4 separate regions of the Homo sapiens genome follow, and regions 2, 3 and 4 are each linked to region 1. Evidence: promoter capture Hi-C in 16 types of primary human blood cells and fetal thymus (Javierre and others, 2016). All regions are on one chromosome and are shown on one strand. The core of a region is centred on a gene start or on the middle of the fragment in contact, and the rest is flanking DNA. Distances in the headings are between cores, read along the strand shown.

Region 1 (3,641 bases), core at 1,142-3,641:
TGATTCTCACAAACAATAATTAGTTAATACAGTGATGACTATGAATAGTATGATATCATTTCTGCCAAGTGTAAAAGAGACAAAGACAATTTTTTAGGGATATAGTCATTTGCAGAAAAAGCACGAAGAAATGCACATGGAGGACAAGAGTGGGAGACAACAGGGAAGGAATCTGCAGGCGCTTACCCTCACTGGCAGTGTTTTATGTCTTCATCCAGTTACTACATTCAGGAGTACTGGATGTACTTTTTAAGTACGTTTTGTATGTTAAATATTGCAGAATGTATTTTATAAAGTATTTAATTACCAGAAACTCTTTAAAAAATTCCCAGGCCTGTTTCAGACTCAGCAGATCAGATTGCAGAGGTGGGGCCCATGAATCTGCCCCTTTTGTGACCCCGATAGTCACTACTGGTCTAAGCCAGGGCAAGGCCACCCCGGTGGAGGTTGCTTCCTTCATGCTGTATTATGTTTTTCACTTTACAAGTAATAATGTTTATCCATCAGTTCCCCAACTTTGGTGCTGCTGTGTTATCTACCATGCAAGGAGATGGGGAAGCAAAAGTAATTAAGACATTTCCACTGGTTTCAAGGGCAAAGGTTAACTCCAATATAAAGGAGTTCTAAAACTTTTCAAATTGGACATATTCACATCTATTGTCTTGATACCAGTGTTTCCAAATCCTTTTTTCCCAATGCCCAGAACATCCACAGATCACTGCGTCTGTCTGGGAACTTCACAGGCTTCTTTCCGGAGACATTCCAGACACGCCCCTCTGCCTTGGCATGAATACTTGGCATCTCCCCTTGACATCTCAAGCTTTGTCATTTACTCACTGTGTGACCTTGGGCCAGTAGTGTCCCTTCTCTGAACCTCTGTTTCCACCCCTGCAAGTTGGGCAGATGAAGGTTCAGTTTGAAGCTGGTTGAGCCCTTGGAGTGACAAAGCAAGGGACTGTGAATGGACAAAAATGAGAGAAATAAATTCTAATAGGCATGAAGCAACCAGGGGAGAAATAGTCCCAATTCTACCCAAAGACTGATGGGCACTAATTTAGAATCCAGTCTCAATTCTACCTTCAATACGGTGTGTGACCTTGAAAATGTCTCTTAATCTCTCTGAGCCTCATGAGTCAAATCAGGATAATGTTAATACCTGCTTCAGAGTTCTGGTGAGGAGCAAATGAAATAACTCCTGTAAAGATGTTTCAGGAATTCTGTCTGACCAGGAAAAAGCCCTTGGGGCCATTTCTTCTTGGTCCCTGACAAGTGCCAGGCTGACGAGCAGAACTCAGGGTGGGGCAGGAAGTCAGTGGACAGTTTTGTGCCCCACTCACTGCAAGGTGGCCTCCCAGACTTGGCTGGATGGGTGAACCTGGCCTGAAAATCAACCACAAGCCCCTTTTCGTTGTGTTTGGAGAGGAGCTGAAGCTGTGTGAATAGGAGTTGAGCATGCGGCTGGCAGAGCAGGCAGGACCCACAGAACACCTGGGCCCACTGCCTGAGGGACAGTCACTCCCTTCTTCATTTGGCTGCTGCCCTGGGATCAAACGGATACAATAGAACCCACGGCGCACGGCTGCCAAGGAAGGGCAGGCCCAAGGGATTGGGCTCCAAGTCCTGGAAGTGGTTTCCCAAGTCACTAGATTTGCAGCGCACAAAACCGGAAAGGTCCCGGTAAACCTGTCCACTGGCACCTGGGCAGCGAAGCGCTTTGGCCGGAGGGCCTCAGGTCCCAGCAGCGGGATGGACAGCGGGGAGATGGCTGACCCTCCTTGGGGTGGTGTGCGTGACCTGCATGAGTGCCTGGGGCATCTCCTGCACGGAATGGCACCCGCACCAGGTGCCCCTGGCCTCGCCAGCCAGAGGACCAGTCCTGGACGGGGAGGGGGAGGACAAGAGCAGGTGAACAGGCCCCAGAACCCGGCTCCCTGACCCTGGCCATAATGCAGAGCTGCCTGGCGCACCTCAGACCACTCCCTGGCCCTCTGGTGGGCACGCCGGGGTGCAGACCCCTCGCCCCGCTGGCACCTCCGTGGCACGTGCGGGAGGGGCAGGAGCCGGGACCAGGAACCGCTGTGGTGAGAGCCAAAGGCACGGGGACTGGCCGCCACAGACCTTTGGCCACCGCAGTGGGGATGGGGGTGGGCGGGCGCTTGTGTGCCCGGGGGCCCGGGGGCCCCCGTGGCGGGGGGGCTAGGGGAGAGGAGCAGGTGACGTCACCCGGGGACCTGGGGCCCCCAGGGGCGGCGGCGAGAGCCCGACCTCGTGACCCGTCCGCGCCAATGGCCCTGCGGTCTCCCGGACGACGCGGAGGGGTCCGCGCTGCACCGCCGCCGCGCCCCCGCCCCGTGTCCGCACTGCAGAGAGCCGCGGCGAGCAGGCGCCGGCGCACTGGCCCACGTGCTGCGCGAGCGAGGGAGAGCCACAGTCTGAGCGAACGTCCGCGCTGGGAGCCAGGGGTGCCCGACCCCCGTCCGCCGCCGCCGCCGCCGCCGCGCATAGCCCCCGGAGAGCCCTCTGGGGACCCCGACCAGAAGGGACCTTGCCCTGGGAGAAGGTAACAGACCCACCTGGGGAGGGAGACGCTGGGCCCCGGGAGACTCCGCCGCCCCTCGCCTGTCCGCCCTATCAGAACTGAAGCAGCCTGCAGGGCAGGGGTCCAGGGTCCTGGGGCAGCGCGGGGAGGGGGCTGAGGCCCGCAGAGACCCCACGGGGGGTGGGGGTGGGGGGCTGGGCAGGGGCGGGGCCTGGCTGCAGAGGCGCCGCCCGGGGAGGAGGGCGGCTGGGGGTGGGGGTGGGGGTGGGCGTGGATGTGGGCGTGCGGAGAGGTGGGCATTAACCTCGCTCTCGCCCTGCTCGCATTCACAGGCTGTGGAGACCTGGGCCTTCTGCGATCACCCTAGGAGTTGATCCAGATATGTGCCTCACGCCCTGATCACTCCCCCCAAATTAGTATCCGCAGAGATTCGAGGACATGCCGTTGACCTTGTTACAGGACTGGTGTCGGGGGGAACACCTGAACACCCGGAGGTGCATGCTCATCCTGGGGATCCCCGAGGACTGTGGCGAGGATGAGTTTGAGGAGACACTCCAGGAGGCTTGCAGGCACCTGGGCAGATACAGGGTGATTGGCAGGATGTTTAGGAGGGAGGAGAACGCCCAGGCGATTCTACTGGAGCTGGCACAAGATATCGACTATGCTTTGCTCCCAAGGGAAATACCAGGAAAGGGGGGGCCCTGGGAAGTGATTGTAAAACCCCGTAACTCAGATGGGGAATTTCTCAACAGACTGAACCGCTTCTTAGAGGAGGAGAGGCGGACCGTGTCAGATATGAACCGAGTCCTCGGGTCGGACACCAATTGTTCGGCTCCAAGAGTGACTATATCACCAGAGTTCTGGACCTGGGCCCAGACTCTGGGGGCAGCAGTGCAGCCTCTGCTAGAACAAATGTTGTACCGAGAACTAAGAGTGTTTTCTGGGAACACCATATCCATCCCAGGTGCACTGGCCTTTGATGCCTGGCTTGAGCACACCACTGAGATGCTACAGATGTGGCAGGTGCCCGAGGGGGAAAAGAGGCGGAGGCTGATGGAATGCTTACGGGGCCCTGCTCTCCAGGTGGTCAGTGGGCTCCGGG
Region 2 (3,641 bases), core at 336-2,835, 360 kb after region 1:
GATACGGGACCCGTTGCTCTATGGAACAGCCCCTTTCTGGGTCAGGCAGGTTGCTTCCTTGTGGTGTCATCTATTCCCAAGGGCCTCTGGACACTGGACATTGAGTGCCAAGGCTGCGTTCAAATCCAGTCATATGGCTTTGGTAGGATACCTTCCTACTGCATCCTGGCAGCAGGACTGTCCCACCCTATGTCCCACTGCTAGGTTAGATTACTCTCTTGCAGCCCTCAAATAATCACAGGATGGCATTTTGATATGTGATACCCCTTTCTCTCTCAAGTCTTTAACCTAATGGTTTAGCATCCATTCCACCTTCAGGGATTCAGAACATCAGCTTATGTATCTTGGACCAATGTTGGCTGGCAGGTCATCATGGATGATAAGGGACTTTGGAGCAATTTAAATGCCAGGCAAATACTGTGGCTGTCCTTCTCTATGCTCCTGGGATCCTGTGCCCTCTCCCTCTCTCCTGTGGCGTTGTTGGCACAAACAAACTGTAGTCACCCATTGGAACATCAATAAAAGCTTGGAGACCAACAAAATGGAAATCCCAGGCAGAGAAGCAGAGAAACCAGGAAGTAGCTGGTGGGGGCGTGTGCTGAGAAAGGAACAATCTTTTACCCCCCTGTCCTAGTCCTCCTGTGTTGCTGTACAGGAATACCAGAGGCTGGGTAATTTATAAAGAGAAAAGGTTGCTTTAGCTCAGGATTTTGCTGGCTGGAAAGTTCAAGACTGGGCGTCTGCATCTAGTGAGAGCCTCAAGCTGCTTCCATTCAGGGTGGGAGTCTAAGGGGAGCTGGTGGCGCACGGCATGTGCAGAGATCACGTGGCCAGAGGGGACGCAAGATGAGGGGAGGAGCCAGGCTCTTTTTAACAATCAGCTCTCACAGAGCAAGGACTCACTCACCCCTGAGGGAGGGCATTAATCTGTTCATGAGGGACTCACCCCCACGACCCAAACAACTCCCATGAGGCCCCACCTCCAACACTGGGGATCAAATTGCAACGTGACGTGTGGAGACTCAGATATCCAACCCACAGCACTGACTGCCATCTGGCATTGAGAACTGCTGTGGAGAAGTCCTGAGGCCGAGGTGAATTTTGTCCACTTTGTCAATTTCATGTTCCCTACTCTTAGCCTGAAACTCAACTTCCTGCTGTCCCTCCAGGGTCCCACGTGGTGTCATCCTCTGCGCCTGTTCCCTAATTTTCAGCACCACGAATGCCAAATGCAGGACCATCTGAGGGCCAGGGTATGTGCTGTGCTGTTGGCTGGCTACTCTCTTTGCCACTTGCAGCCTCCAGCTCTCTGCCTGAATGTCACCCCTTCAGAGAGCACCCCCACTACTGTAGGTCCCCCTTGATTCTGCACTGCCCTCACCTCTCTTCTCTTCATTTTGCAAAGGGAGGTCGTACATGTGCATTTGGAGTTTCCTTAAGAATCCCGACCTGAGGGAAGGGGATTGGCAGTGGAGCTTCCAGGAATGGCTGGAAAGTTGGGGTCAGGGGACGCTGGCCACATGGGGAGAGAGCTAAGAAAAGCAGCAAAAGAAGAAAAGAAAGGAAAGAAGGAACGGGCTCCCTCGAAAGCCTGGTCAGGCGAGCGCCAGTATGGAAGTGGGCATGGCACCTCAATTGCAGAGAGTGTCCTGGGTTTGAATGGTGCCCCCCAAAAAGACATATTGAAGTCTCAACTCCTGGTATCTGTGACTGTGACCTCATTTGGAAAGGGAGACTTTGCAGCTGTAATCAAGGTAAGATGAGGTCATACTGTAGGAGCAGGGTGGGCCCTAATCCAGTGATTGGCATTCACAACAGACCAGGGAAATTGGGACACAGACACACACAGAGAGAGGATGGCCACACGAAGACAGAGGCCAAGAAGGATTGCTGGAAACCACCAGAAGCCGAAAATGGCGAGAAAGGGGCTTCAGTGGAGCGGGGGCCTGCCAGCACCTGGATCTCGGACTTCTGGCCTCCAGAACCGGGAGAGAAAAATGTGTCTTGCTTGAAGGCCCCGATTTGTAGTACTTATTATGGCCGCCCCAGGAAGCCATACAGAAGGTCTGATGGTGAGGGGCCCTTGGTGAAGCTGCAGGAGTGAGAACACCACAGGTGGCCGCTGTGCTTATTTCACAAGAAAAACTAAGCAGGGTCTTCAAGCAGGTCGCAGATTGGCTGCTCCAGGCTGCCCTGGGCTCACAGGGGGCTCTTTGCATTTCCCTTAGCTCCTCTGCGCCCTGGTGATGGCAGCCATTCTCCTGACCACGAGACCCAAGGTGAGTGGTGGCCCCTCTCCCTGGCCTCTCCCCCTGGCAGCCCCCGTCTGCTGCCTCCTCATGCCCAGGCCTCTCCAGCTGGGCTGAGCTTAGGCTGCCCTTAGCATCGTTTTCCTTTCCTGAGGCGCACAATCTGGGCTTCCTGCCTCTGTCGGCTGTGCTGCCTGTTTTTCTGTCTTACAACTCGTGCAACCCGAGTCTTTCCACCTGCTGAGCCTTCCAGGGCTCCCCCCGCCCCCCACATTTTGTTTCTGTCAGCTCCTCCAGGGGCCCAGGGGGTTGAATTCCCCTGTGGCCACAAGAATGCCTTATTTTAGGTGCCAGTATCTTTTGAGGATGTGTCCGTGTACTTCACAAAGACAGAATGGAAGCTTCTGGACCTCAGACAAAAGGTCCTCTACAAGCGGGTGATGCTGGAGAACTATAGCCATTTGGTGTCACTGGGTAAGTGATCCCTCCACGACATACACACACCCAGTCCCACCTACTCTGTCTCTGGGCTCAGTTTATTTCCGAGATTCCTGTTTGTCGGTTGCTATGAGCCCAAGAATAAATGCATTTCTCCATCAGACCAGTAATGCCAGTAATCCATTGCAGGCCAGCCGCCATCTCAGTAGGATGGTTTTTAGCTAAGTGGTCTGGACCTGTAAATGTTTTAGGTAAATGCGTTGGCCTGTAAGTTTCAGTACCAGTCTTATCTTGTGTATAAAATCGTGGATCGACTAAAGGTCTTTCTACTCAAAAGAGAGATGCAAATTCTACTGGAATATTTATGTGCACTCTTTTAGACTTAATTCGTTTCTATGACGGCTGCATTTTGCATCCGTTCCACTTTGTAAAATTTAGCAACATCTTTTCCTTCCATTGACCAGGGAGGTCCCACATAAGGACAAAGTGTAGACTTGGATTTCAAGCCTTGAGAAGTCCCGGGAGGAGCTGGGGCAGCTTGGAGCACACTGCTCTCCCCCTTCCATGCCAGTGCACACCCACTGCCGGAAGGGGCAGCAATTTTGCCAATTAAAGGGCAAAAGCAGGAGTCACAGGCTAGACGGATGGGGGCCGGAGCACTCAGGAAGGTTTTCAGGTGGGGTAAAGAACGTCTGAGGGTGCCAGTGACTTGCCCCCACCTCACGCAGCTGATGAGAGATGCATGCGTGAAACAGAGTGGGACTGGGCCTCTGGCTTTTCCCCCAGTGTGCCCAGCAAGGCTGGCTGCTGCAGCTAAGCTCAGACACTCCACTTCCCAGTGGAAATGGAAACACTCCACTTCCCCTTGCCGCTGGAGGGGAAATCCAGAGGGTCTTCAACATTGCACTCTACTGCCTTTGGGGTTGTGGGAGTCTGACTCCACAGATTTTGCCT
Region 3 (3,641 bases), core at 288-2,787, 340 kb after region 1:
GCTCCGGGACCAGCCTCGCTGGCATTCCCCTGGGCTGGGGAGGCCTGGGCAGCAGCTGGGTCTTCACTCTCCACTGGGGCCGCTGCCCAGGCCACACCCTGCTGGCTCCTCGCTGGGAAGGCTGCCCATGCCTCCATCTCCCGGATGAGCCGGAGCAGCCCCAGGAAGCCAGGTGGCCTCTTCTCCAGCTGCATCCCTCTCAGGGTATCCTGGAGTGCCTCGCTGGGGCGGGCCCAAGACAGCACCTGCTGTAGTCGCAGGTAATTGGCCAAGGCTGGGCAGACGGCCCCCTTCTCCACAGCCCTCTGCAGCAGGCCTTCCAGGCGCACCACGAAGGCAAACAGCCCCTCCTGGGGCCCCTGCGTGCAGGTCAGGAACTTCAGCCTCGAAGTCATTCGAGTGTCCTGGTTCCTAAATACCTGCCCCAGCGCCGCCAGGCAGTCCAGCGCGGACAAGTTGGTATCTTCCTCCAGGAGGCCGCTCACGACTTCCAGGGCCGGGCCGCCCAAGCTCTCCAGCAGCCACCTCTTCTTCTCCCTTTCCGACGCATGGCACCACAGCTGCAGCATATCCTTGGCATGCTCCACCCAGCTCTCAAAGGACTCTTCCTCGCAGCCTGGCTGCTCCCTCCTGGAAAAGGGTCTCAATTCCCGGTAGGCCCTGTTTTCCAGCACAGGCTGTAGGGTGCAGCGCCAAGGCTGGACCCAGGCTTTTGTTACATTTGTCCCTCCTGCTTCACCCACAGCTCCTGCCTCACCTGCAGCTCCTGCCTCACCCACAGCTCCTGCCTCACCTGCTGCTCCTGCCTCACCCACAGCTCCTGCCTCACCTGCTGCTCCTGCCTCACCTGCTGCTCTTCCCTCACCTGCGCCTCCTGCCTCACCTGCTGCTCCTGCCTCACCTGCGCCTCCTGCCTCACCTGCTGCTCCTGCCTCACCTACACCTCCTGCCTCACCTGCGCCTCCTGCCTCACCTGCTGCTCCTGCCTCACCTACACCTCCTGCCTCACCTGCGCCTCCTGCCTCACCTGCTGCTCCTCCCTCACCTGCTGCTCCTGCCTCACCTGCGCCTCCTGCCTCACCTGCTGCTCCTGCCTCACCTACACCTCCTGCCTCACCTGCGCCTCCTGCCTCACCTGCTGCTCCTGCCTCACCTGTTGCTCCTGCCTCACCTGTGCCTCCTGCCTCACCTGCTGCTCCTACCTCACCTACACCTCCTGCCTCACCTGCGCCTCCTCCCTCACCTGCAGCTTTTGCTACTGCTTGACCCTGGGGCTGTGCAGGAAAACTGGGCATATCCTGAAACTCAATAACAGGTACTTGGGGCAGGAAGATCACTTTCCAGGGCCCCCCATTGCCTGGTATTTGATGGGGAATCAAGCTTCGGTTTAAATACTCAGCGAACTCCACCAAGGCTGCCTTGGCCCCGAGCTCCTTTCTGAAGTGCTTGGTGAGTACTCGGTACCTGCCCAGGGGCGACAGGGCAGCCCGCACGGCCTCCTGGAACTCATGTTCCTTGCAGTCATCAGGGATACCCAGGATGAGCAGGGAGCGCTCTGCGTTCGCACCCATCCACCTGCACCAGTCCCGAAGCATCGCCAGAGCCATCGCAGAGGACTTGAGGGAGGGAGCCTGATCAATCAGGAATGTGTGCTGACTGTTGCAGTCTCCGACACAGCCTGTGAGTGCAAAGAGAGAAGCTTGTTTGTGCCAAACACTCACTCCCACCACTCATCTGCCCCTACGTGTGTGGGGGTGAGGGGGCAGGGCTGGAGTTCCTCTGCCTCCTTGTTTTGTCGCTTTGATTTTAGTGAAATTTTGATGGCAAAATTAAATTTATTTGCAAGATACAGGGCTAGTCACATTTTCTATGCTACTTGGTGCCATTTGTAGTAAGTTACTTTTTTTCCCCCACAAAGGAATTGGGAAGCTTATCTCAGTTTTCAAAACTTTTGATAAAAACTTGTTCACAATATTCCCTCTTTATCTTTTTAATGTCTATATGATCTGTAGTAATATCCTGTCCTTCATTCCTGATATTGATTAGTGTTCATTCTCTCTTGTGTGTTGTGTGTGTGTGTGTGTGTGTGTGTGTTGTTTTTTGTTTGTTTGTTTGTTTTTTGAGACAGGGTCTCACTCTGTCACCCAGGCTGGAGTGCAGCAGCTTGATCTCGGCTCAGTGCAGCCTCGACCCCCTGAGCTCAAGCGATCCTCCCACCTCAGCCTCCTGAGTAGCTGGGACTACCGGCACATGCTAACACACGTGGTTAAATTTTTTGTACTTTTTGTAGAGAAGGGGTCTCACTATGTTGCCTAGGCTGGCCTTGAACTCCTGGGCTCAGGCAATCCTCCCGCCTCAGCCTCTCAAAGTGCTGGGATTACAGGCATAAACCACTGTGCCTAGCCCCCTCTCATCTTAATTAGTCTTGCTAGGGTTCATTAATTTTGGTACTCTTTAAAAAGCCTAATATCGGGGTTTACTGATTGTCCTTTTTATCTCTGTTATTTCTTTATTTGACTCATTCTGTGTTTACTTTTGCTCTTTTTCGAGCTTCTTTAAATGGACTGTTCGGCCATTGATTTTATGTTCTTTTTTTCTGTTATGAGCACTGAAAGCAAGAAATTTTCCTCTGACCACTTCCTTCCTTCCAAATGGCTAGTAATTTGGGTAAGTTGAATGTTTTGTGCAGTTTGAAATATCTTGTAAGTTCCTTGGTGATTTCATCTTTGACCCATGGATTTCAAAATATCTAGACATATGTTATTGTTATTAATTTCAAATAAAATTCCACTGTGATCAGAGAACTTATGAAAACGTGCGATCCTTTTCAGTTTCTGAAGATTTTTAAATGGCTCGACATATGGTCTATCTAAGTGAATGTACAATTTGCCCTTGTCATGAATCCGTATTTTCTACAGAGGCCAAGGTCTGCCCCCTCCAACCACTGCAACTCCTGTCGCCATTCCCCACGAAGAGGCGACCTGAAGCCTTTCCAATTCCACCTGTAGGGGGCCAGGCTCCTCACGGCACTGCCACGCCGACAGCCTCCAGGGGGCGCTCACCGTCGCCTGTACCACTGGCCGCCAGGCAGCCTCCGGCTCCGCACCCCGTGCACCCTTAGGCATTGGCCCTCCTTCCAGCCCATCCCCCACCGCACACCGGGGACAGTCCCTTCCTGCCCCCAACGTGCCCTTCCACACTGGGCGCCCCCTAAACCCAGCTGGCAGCACTCCAGTCTAGCCCCGGGCAGCAGGGCGTCCCACGTGCTTAGACATGAGCCTCCCTCTGTGGCCTCCCCACAGCCAGGGGCCCGACAATCCCGCCCTCCACCCCCAAGTCAGGAGCCCCCATAGCCCACAGAGGCAGGGCACCCTCCGCTCTGGTCGGCCCTCCACCGGGCTTAGGAATCACCTCTGCCCTCACCCACCCAGCCCTAGGACCTGACCACGGCACCCGCCAGGGGCCGTCCCCTCTCGCGCCTCAGACCCAGGCTGGGCCGCCCTCCGTCCCGCCCCACGCTTGGAGCCCGCCAGCCTGCTCTCCCACGTGGCGCTCCACAGCCCCCTTGCCCTCCCACCCCAGGGAGCCCCCTCCCGACCCCCAGCCCCACAGCCGGAAGCCCTCGACACCCCCTCACCCCA
Region 4 (3,641 bases), core at 287-2,786, 290 kb after region 1:
CCGGGCCCAGGCCCCGTGCTCAGTGGCTGTCTCAGAAAGAAAAAGATTCTTGACAAAGGAGAGGCCCTTCCCTCCTTCATCCTCTGCAGACTACACTGCCTTGTGTTTATCGTTTCAGAAAGCACCTCCGCGACCCGACACCAGATGAAGGGGGAAGATGCCCAGCCACAGGAGATGGCGTCCACAAGCTTCCCAAGGGCCAGTGGTCCCAGTCCTGAATTCAGACAGCACGGGGACTCTGACGGGAAGAGAGGGAGCCCACAGAATCTGCCCATAGAACATCATTTTGCTTGTAAAGAGTGTGGGGACACCTTTCGGCTTAAAGTCCTGCTTGTCCAGCACCAGAGAGTCCACAGTGAGGAGAAGGGCTGGGAATGTGGCGACTGCGGGAAGGTCTTTAGGGGGGTGGCGGAGTTTAATGAGCACAGGAAAAGCCACGTAGCTGCGGAGCCCCAGCCCGGCCCCAGTAGGGCCCTGGAGAATGCCGCGGAGAAGAGGGAGCAGATGGAGAGGGAGGCAAAGCCCTTCGAGTGCGAGGAGTGCGGAAAACGGTTTAAGAAGAATGCAGGCCTGAGTCAGCATCTGAGGGTCCACAGCAGAGAGAAGCCCTTTGATTGCGAGGAATGCGGGCGGTCGTTCAAAGTCAACACCCACCTCTTCCGACATCAGAAACTTCACACTTCGGAAAAGCCTTTCGCCTGCAAGGCGTGCAGCAGGGATTTCCTGGATCGCCAGGAGCTTCTCAAGCACCAGCGCATGCACACTGGCCACCTGCCCTTCGACTGCGACGACTGCGGCAAGTCCTTCCGAGGGGTCAACGGGCTGGCCGAGCACCAGCGCATCCACAGTGGGGCCAAGCCATACGGGTGTCCCCACTGCGGCAAGCTCTTCCGAAGGAGCTCGGAGCTCACCAAGCACCGGCGGATCCACACGGGCGAGAAGCCCTACGCCTGCGGCCAGTGCGGCAAGGCCTTCCGCCAGAGCTCCAGCCTCCTGGAGCACGCACGCATCCACAGTGGCGAGCGGCCCTACGCATGCGGCGAGTGTGGCAAGGCCTTCCGTGGGCCCTCTGACCTCATCAAGCACCGGCGCATCCACAGCGGACTGAAACCCTATGAGTGCGACAAATGCGGCAAGGCCTTCCGCCGGAGCTCCGGCCTCAGTCGCCACCGGCGGATCCACAGTGGGGCGCGGCGCTGCGAATGCAGCCAGTGTGGCCGCGTGTTCAAGAGGCGCTCGGCACTGCAGAAGCATCAGCCAACCCACCACGAGTAGAAACGCCCTGTGGTCCCGCGGGACAGGGACGGAGTCCCCAGAGGGGATGGCAGAGTCAAAGGAGATGAACAGTTTTGTAGCGCTTATATATTTTGTCTTCCAAAAGGTTGAGACCGATTTATACTGCCACCAGCAATTTATAAGTGTTACGTTATGCCCATCAAGAGTAGCTTGTACCATTTAACTTAGTTTGGCTAGTTTAACTGGTAGGAAGTACCATCAAGGTATTTCAGTCCACATGCCTTGAATCCAAGAATGAGAGAGGACAAATCTGGATGTGGGGTAGGGAGGGGCTTAGAGGTCATCAACTCCAAGCTCCCCCCGCCCCAGAGAAACACACAGAGCTGTTCCACGATGGCGTCCTCATAATGTGATCCCAGCTTTCCTGAAGAGAACGTTGCCCTCATGATTTTTGGCCTACTTGAATTTATAAATTTTTAGGGATGTAAATAGAACACTCAAATGTCTTAAAATATTTAATTTATTAATTTAGTTATACATACATACTGTAAATCACATATTATATAAAATAATATATTAATTTAGAAAATACCCCATTTTTGCCACCCTCCCTTTCACGAAATCATTTTACTCTGACTCCTCACCGTCTTCACCAACATGGGAACCCTGTTTGAGTCATCAGACAGTTTCAAGACACACCCAGTCACTTCCATCCGAGCTCTGCACGGTCGCTCAGTGACGATCCCTTCATGAGGCTCTCATTAGAAATTTTCTCCCAAGCCATAAGACCATATTTGCAGAACATTAGGACGATTTCTCTTGTCGTTTTTTAATCTGTCCTGTGACTGTACAATATAACCACTTAAGGTCATACTTTTTCAAACAACCTTTAAACGTCTTTTCTTTTAAAGCACCCAAAATGTCATTGTGAGGCCAAACGCCTAGTAACAGTTACTGAATCTGGGTTAAATGTCGGTATCTTTTTTTCTTAAACCATTTCAATTTGGTGTCCCCTATACATATCCAAAACTAGCATCGATTGGGGTTGTTTTGAACTAATGGGTCTTGTCCTCAAGCAGCACTATTTTGTTCAAAATAAAATAGTTGAGAGCATGCCCCTAAGAAGAGATACATCTCAAGGACTCAAGTGCAGGGTGACGCCTCCTTTTGGAAATGAGCCTCTCCTGGTATCAGGCCTAGATGGTACTTCTCCAGCCTTCCGTTTCTTGTTCTATAAAACAGGGGTGATCACAGCACCTACCTCCGAAGGTTATCACGAGGACTGCCATCGTGGCTGCAGAGTGCCAGGACCACCGGCCTGGTATGGAGGTACACACTCAGTGAAGGCCATCTGCTGTCATTGTCATTGTCATAGTTATTGCCGTCATTCTGTGGCTTGTCAATTCCAGAACTGGGGATAGACCCCAGGCCTCCTGACCACCAGTCTCATCTTTCTCTTATGCGATGACTTAAATGGTGTTTCTGTTTTTTGCATGCAAATGGTCCGTTCATCTCCTTTGACTAGTTATCAACTTACCTTCGGATATATTAACTTTATGTAGCAGTTCTTTCTATATTGATGGTGATGTTCTCTTTTCCAATTTTATTGCTTTGCTTTTTGTAGCAGTTTTATTACGTTTTTGTTGTGAAAGCTTTTAATTTTTACATATCCAAGCATTCATTTTTTGTCCACTCAGTCATAACTTTCATTGCTTCTGTAGCTAGATATGATGACATTTTCTCTAGAATTTTAATTACAAACAAAAAGCTGCAACCCCAGCCCATCAGAAGGTGAGTACACCAGGTGGGCAGGCTGGATGGAAATGGGCCAGAGAAGCAGGCTCTTTCCTCATCCGAGATGCGGACTCCCTGTCTATCTGTGGGCACCACTTGACTATCCAACCTGACCACTGCGGCACACTGGAGATGCTCCCATCATAGATTAGCCAGAACTCTGTGACTGCTCATCATTATAGACCCCGCCAGCAGCAGTGGGGCTTGGCCTCACCTAGATCAATGGAGTGGTCCAAACTTGGTCTGGGAGCAAGCAGCCCAGCCATCCTTTGAGCTCCTGGGAGCCTTGGCAATGCTCCGAGTGGATTCAGTGACTGAGCAGCAGATTCACCCAAGAAACATCTCCTTGGACACAAGAAGACTTGCCTAGACCACATCCTCCTTTCAGCCGGTGACTCTAGAACTAGAAAGAGATTGGTTCATAGGCTTCTGCTGTGGGCAGCTAGGGGAAAATTCACCCATGTGTTCTGGCATCACTTCCTATAGCCACACCTAAGTGAGGGCAACAGAGCAGAGGCTCGGAGAGGAACCCTGCCCCTCCGATGGCTTGTGCGTTATGCTGATAGAAGCTGGCAGCACTGCCCTGGGCTATGATTTGCAACAGCCATGCC

What was found. The method cuts DNA at HindIII sites, captures the fragments that hold promoters and counts their contacts. A CHiCAGO score of 5 or more calls a contact.
Region 2: a fragment that was not itself captured here is called in contact with the fragment with the promoter of PNMA3 in region 1 in 13 of 17 cell types (M1 macrophages, naive CD4 T cells, naive B cells and 10 more); the score reaches 14.4 in M1 macrophages.
Region 3: a fragment that was not itself captured here is called in contact with the fragment with the promoter of PNMA3 in region 1 in 5 of 17 cell types (naive B cells, non-activated CD4 T cells, total CD4 T cells and 2 more); the score reaches 8.8 in naive B cells.
Region 4: a contact is called between a fragment that was not itself captured here and the fragment with the promoter of PNMA3 in region 1, in 9 of 17 cell types (M1 macrophages, M2 macrophages, naive CD8 T cells and 6 more). The highest score is 11.7, in M1 macrophages.

The regions. Positions count from the first base shown.
Region 1 is chrX:153,054,079-153,057,719 of GRCh38, forward strand. It overlaps PNMA3 (PNMA family member 3), which reads left to right and starts at 2,392. Exons shown (of 2, transcript NM_013364.6): 1 at 2,392-2,560; 2 at 2,872-3,641. The coding sequence starts at 2,978. The HindIII fragment of the contact is 3,087 bases long and covers 819-3,641 here.
Region 2 is chrX:153,416,077-153,419,717 of GRCh38, forward strand. It overlaps ZFP92 (ZFP92 zinc finger protein), which reads left to right. Exons shown (of 6, transcript NM_001136273.2): 3 at 2,229-2,279; 4 at 2,597-2,723. The coding sequence starts at 2,247. Among named protein-coding and RNA genes, the nearest start is that of ZFP92, 6.4 kb to the left of the region's middle. The HindIII fragment of the contact is 2,125 bases long and covers 524-2,648 here.
Region 3 is chrX:153,397,243-153,400,883 of GRCh38, forward strand. It overlaps PNMA6E (PNMA family member 6E), which reads right to left. Exons shown (of 2, transcript NM_001367770.1): 2 at 1-1,678. The coding sequence starts at 1,607. Among named protein-coding and RNA genes, the nearest start is that of PNMA6E, 2.3 kb to the right of the region's middle. The HindIII fragment of the contact is 319 bases long and covers 1,379-1,697 here.
Region 4 is chrX:153,346,701-153,350,341 of GRCh38, forward strand. ZNF275 (zinc finger protein 275) reads left to right here. Exons shown (of 4, transcript NM_001367757.1): 4 at 119-3,641. The coding sequence ends at 1,275. Among named protein-coding and RNA genes, the nearest start is that of MIR12129, 13 kb to the left of the region's middle. RefSeq lists an enhancer at 598-1,098. The HindIII fragment of the contact is 2,700 bases long and covers 187-2,886 here.